2 separate regions of the Homo sapiens genome follow, and region 2 is linked to region 1. Evidence: promoter capture Hi-C in 16 types of primary human blood cells and fetal thymus (Javierre and others, 2016). All regions are on one chromosome and are shown on one strand. Each heading gives the region's core, a stretch centred on a gene start or on the middle of the fragment in contact. The rest is flanking DNA. Distances are from core to core; before and after follow the strand shown. Region 1 holds the start of CLINT1 (clathrin interactor 1). Region 2 has its middle 31 kb from the start of LINC02202.

Region 1 (2,772 bases), core at 142-2,641:
TAGGCACTCTATTGCCTTCTTGGTAGCACAGAAAATATAAAAATATGGTCAAGCTCTAAGTTCTATCTGATGTATCAGACAAGGCACTGGAAATTACTTTGTTTCCTGGTGTCAAGAAAACAGTTTGCTATCTATACTTCCTGATTTTAGGTTAGGTGGGTGGCACAAATCAACTGTTTTTCTCACCACACTTATTGCATAATCATTAAAGCCCCAAAGGAAGAGGACTGCTTAAATTCTTAAACTTTATTTCCTGCTGGCCTAGAAGACCTTACTTAACCACTGTTATACCTGATATACTCATTTTAAAAGTTAAGGTTTTCCTTGTGCAAGTAAGAGACTAAAGTTATTTCAGTCTTAAAGGAAATCAACTACGTACTGGTCGTTTTACCTGCTTTTAAAAGCAGATCAACAGGATATAAACCTGGGTTGTTTTTTTCCTTAAGAGGACATTTCTTAATGACCTCTTAATTTAATCGAATGGAACAAGTAGCACACCAAAAATGATGTGTAGTGGAAAAAGAAACAGAAGAAAAAATCGCAAGAAGTCATATAGTGATCTACTTTCACTAGTGTTAGAAAAGCAAAGGATGAGTGTCTTCTTGAGTAACTTCAGGCTGACCACAATAGCCACTTGTTACACTACTACCACCCACTCCAACACTTCAGGTTCATTAGGAATTAAGAGGAGGCAAGGAAGATAAAAGACACACCCCAACCAGGTCTAAGGTCTCTCCGTACTACACCTTGAGGGACACAGGGAACCAGTGCATTGTGCCCCCCACCCCCAAACCTTCCCTGCTCCCCAGGAGGCAAAGCCCACGGCCTGGGGCCAAGACAGTCCTCCGGCCAGGGCAGTGACCCAGCGCCAAACAACCCGCCCCTTATGACCAAAGCGTCGGCACCCAGGGGTTGGAATAGGGGAAGGGACGGGAAGGCCTGGAAAGGAGAGAAGGGTGGCCAAGAGGATGTTTTTTTTTAAAACGAGGGAGGGTCCCTCCCCAGCCTCGCCAGCGGGGATGAGGCCCGGGGCCGGGAAGGAGCGGGCCGCCGCCATGATGGGGCTGGCAGAGCCAGGGGGCGTGACGTGGGCAACCCCTAGCCCAAGGCCAGCTCCTTCTCCCCCTCCCCCCTCCCCCACGTGGGCCTCGGCCACAACTGCCCCCCGATACTCACGCTTTGTCCACCAGCTCGCGCACCTTCCACATGTTCAACATCGTGCCCCGCGCGGGACGGTCCGCCGCCTCCCTCTCCTGCTCCCCACGGACCCCGGAACACTTCCGTACCGGGGCAGTTCCAGGCCGGGGTCACCGCCGCCCGCCGCCTCGAACTCCCCCAGTCAGCTCCTTCCTTTGCCACAGCAGCGGCGCCGCCGGTGACACGTCGAGACGCGGCAGCACAGGCGCTGCGTGGAGCGGAAGTGTCCGACTTTCCGCCGCTGCGCGCGGGGCACGCCGGGACTTGTAGTTTTCCCTGAGTGCCGAGCTCGGCCGGTTGAGTTGGGAGAGCTGAGAGGTTGAGTTGGGAGAGCTGAGAGGAGTTGGGATGGTTTCTCTTAAGCTTTCCCAGTCCCCGGCCCCAGACCTACCGAGCCAGAAATTTTGGAGGTGGGGCCCAGCGATCTGTGCTTTTACAAATCCTCTAGGTGATTCTGATCACGCTCAAGTTTCAGAACCACTGGTGCAGGGTCTAGTCACACTCAAACACTTTTCAAATGTAAGGCAGTATTACTATGTTATTAGTAATGATTATACAGAAGTATGATTGGCATACGCATTCCTCATCGACAGACACATCGCTGTATTTATTTCCCAATGCCCAAGTACACTTAGATCTCTAGGCCTTAGTTTCCACCCCTGTAAAATTGAAGAACTTGTATTCTAAATCCTTTTCCGCTCTAATTCTATGATACAATGTTTTATATTTAGACAACTACCTGAAATCCTTGTTAAATGCTTTACTATAAACCTCAGAAACTCAGTTCACACTCCACGGGAAACTAAAAAGCCAACATTATATATACACGCACACATACACATACATATGACAGGTTTGTGTTTTTTAAGGATAAATATGCACATTGCTTCCATTGCTTTGTTGCAATGGTTGTCATCACTTCCTTCTCTACTTACTCATTTTTATCAATGCTCATGTTAAAGCTACAAGCAACCTTAAGTTTCATTTGATCCATCTGCTGAAATTTTACAGTTCTTTTCATTCTACAAATATTTATTGAGCATCTTGTATGTTCCAGAAGTGGGGAATATAGTTAAAGACCCAGCTCTCTTGGAATTCAAACGTAATTGGAAGAAACATATAATAATCAAGGAAACATTTAAGATAATTGCATATAGTGTAATTGCTTAGCGGGTTCTTTCTGCCCACTTTACAGATAAAGTCAATTCACTGCGACCAAGTCATTGCAGTGAAGAGTTTGACATGAGGCTGGCCATGCCACTTGAGAGACAGAGTTATTACTCAAATCAATCTTCCTGAACATTTGGAAGCTAGAGTTTTTCAAAGATAGTTTGGTGAGCAGAGGGTTAGGGCATGGGTGCTGCTGATTGGTTAGGGATGCAATCAGAGGAGTATGGAAAATGGTTCTCCTTTGCTGAATCGGCTTCTTGATGGAGGGCCAGCAGAGGAGTGGCTGGTCTGGGTGGGGTCATCCGTTTGTCAGAAATGCAAAAGCCTGAAAAGACGTCTTAAAAGGCCAATCTTAGGTTCTACAATAGTTCATTACAGGCCAGGCACAGTGGCTCACGCCTGTTA
Region 2 (2,772 bases), core at 103-2,602, 1.3 Mb after region 1:
TAGACAAAAAGTAAACCCCAAAAAAGTAATTTCATATTGCAATAAAGAGTATGCAGGGTGGCAGACAGAGAGAAGCATTGAGTACGAGGGCCTTGAGCTTGATTTGTCCGATTAGGTCTCATCTAGAAGATGAAATTTGAGCTGAGAACTGAAGGGTGAAATAGAGTCAGGCATGTAAGGATTTGGGGCAAGCGCAACCCAGCAAAATAAAATAGCTAGTTCAGAGCTCCCAAAAATATCTAGAGAAGGAGAGAGCAACTTGCAAAGAGAGTTTGACTTGCAAGCTGACATCAAACATCTGAAAGACGTGCTTTGGATGAGCTCAAGAATGTGTAGCCAGGATCAGTAGAGGAAAGCCATGAAGGGTGTGGGTGGCTGAGCTCTCTTCAAGGAAAGGCAGGATTTGCAACCACCAGATCTTCTCAAGAGGCTACTTGAAGAGTCAGCACAGCCAATATCACTGAAAGTGATTCTCACTCTCTTGGTAAGGTAGTGGCCACATGTTTTTTGGCCATTCTCTTTCCCTTGGGGAACAGCCCTCAATTTTCCCTGTGAAGAATTACCTCTCCTCTATTGTGGCAGCCTTGACTTAAACAGTGACACTGGCCGAAGGGTGGTCACACACCTAAGATTGTCCAGATGGACTTTCTTCCCCAAGACTCTCTTCTCTGCAGTGGTTAAGTATGGGGTTGGGAAGACTATGCAAAGCTGACCACCCCCCGTGGTTGTTTCAATGGCAGCCTTATAATTTCTATGTAGAAGGGATGGGGCTGGCAGTCTGTTGAGGGCAGGATTTGGGGGACCACTTTAACCTATCTTCGTATAGCATTTTGCATAAAGGTAAGAAAGCTCAACTTCTCACACAAAGAATTAGGGTAGGATGGAGGGGTTTAAAGTTCCTCCAAATATCCTCAAATATCTCCTTGGAGTCACCACTGGGTGACACCACTGGTCAGTGCCTGTCACCTAGATCCCCAGAATCTTCATGGTTCCTGAGTCGTCCTAGCCTGGTTCTTCAGCTGCCTTTTTATTTCTGGAGACCCCCTTTCAATAACACAAATACCCTTTTTGGTTTAACTTGCCCAGAGTTGGTTTCTATTACTTGTACCACAGAAGGCTGATAGGGGATGGGGACGGACCCAGGCCCTAGATGAGATGAAGGAATTTTTAAAGCCTCTTTCATTGCTGTGGTTTTAAGATAAGCACAAATATAATTAGGCCTCTCTCATAGGAATCAATAGTTATAGATGTACTGGAAAGACAATACTTGGCTCAGTATCTTAAACAGACATGTTGGCTCTACACACTTGCAAACAATGAAATCAAGTATAATTTGCAGCCCTGGGGATATAGTTCCAGAAAGAGGCTCAAAGTACACTTACCAGTGGTATTCAGAAAGCCACGGAAGGGGACTCTGCCAGAACACCATCGTCCGCAGGCTGATGTCAACACATAATAAAACAATAGAGTGAACATTGGGGGAGGGAGGAATCTGTAACATAAAGAAGATAATGGAATCATCAACACTGATCAGCATCAGGAACAAATGGGGCTGGAGGAAACCTGAAGAATTCTTCAGAAAATCTCAAGTAAGTCTGCCAGCAGAAACTAACCATGCCTCACATTTGATTTCCACTGGTATATTTAGTATATTTCATGAAGTTGTGTAATATCTGCCCACCCTGCTTTGAATTTCAGCATAGTTACAGTGATGAAAACTAACAAAAAACAAACAAAAAACCCCCAAGAGATTCTTACTCTGATTTGGGGGTGGGGCCTGGGGGGTACAGTATAGTTCAACATAATTTGTTATAGAAAAAAAAGTTTCTATTGATTCATAATCAACCTTTTCAATGATGATTTTTTTGGGGGATGTGATCTCTCTGGACTTTTTTTTGGGAAAACATTGTTTCCTGCTAGACAAAGAGCAGTCTGTTTTGAACAGTGAAACTGACCTCTCAGCTTTTGAGTTTCTAATAGCAAATTAAATCTACCTCACCAGGAAAAGAAAATTATGAAGAGGTAACTTTTATAATGCAGGAAATAATTGGTGTATTGATCTTTATGAATTTCCTGATTTCTTTACCTTATAATGGTTTTCCTTAATGGCAACACATGCATTAAGAAAACAAAGCACATTTGATGGAAATTCGTTGTCTTCCCCTTTTTAAATTATTTAGTAACATTGGGCAGCTAAGAAATTGTTTCTGCTTCTATAAAACCCCCTATGCTAATTGTGGCCAGCAAATTAGTAATTATAATAGATGATACAAAGCAGGAAAGGGCTAAACTAATGTTAGGGAGTAAAGAATGCAATTAGATGGCTCAGCCTAACGCATCTTCACTCTGAATCTCTGTGAAGAAGGAAGAAAAAAGCTCTGCACCAAAATTAAAGGGGACTCGTTTTCTGATTGTGTCCTAGGGGATTTGGAGAAAGCTCAAGCAATTTGAAGGATACCCTCAGGTTGTACTCAGCAGAATTCCTGACCTCTGCCACATCCTATCTATCATGAGCCTTTATCAGGAGGAGATGGCACATCACAAGCCATTTGGTGGCACGTAATTGCTTCGACATTGACAGCAGAGGGGTATATATCACCTCCTCTGTTAAAAAGAGAGTGAGTGTTTTAAGTGGAAGAAGACTGAATGTAAAGGCAAATTTAAATAAACATTAAAGGGAAGTTAAACCAATACAAAACTGAAATGGATACCAAAATAAAATGAAAGCTTAAATATATGTTGAAGAAAACATTTAATAATGTATGATTTCTA

What was found. Contacts are between HindIII fragments. The CHiCAGO score rates a contact against its expected background, and 5 or more counts as called.
Region 2: a contact is called between a fragment that was not itself captured here and the fragment with the promoter of CLINT1 in region 1, in 3 of 17 cell types (total B cells, naive B cells and fetal thymus). The highest score is 10.2, in total B cells.

The regions. Positions count from the first base shown.
Region 1 is chr5:157,857,754-157,860,525 of GRCh38, forward strand. CLINT1 (clathrin interactor 1) reads right to left here and starts at 1,392. Exons shown (of 12, transcript NM_014666.4): 1 at 1,177-1,392. The coding sequence starts at 1,217. RefSeq lists enhancers at 1,022-1,603, 1,441-1,680. The HindIII fragment of the contact is 1,599 bases long and covers 1-1,558 here.
Region 2 is chr5:159,129,679-159,132,450 of GRCh38, forward strand. No RefSeq gene overlaps it. Among named protein-coding and RNA genes, the nearest start is that of LINC02202, 31 kb to the left of the region's middle. The HindIII fragment of the contact is 2,746 bases long and covers 1-2,725 here.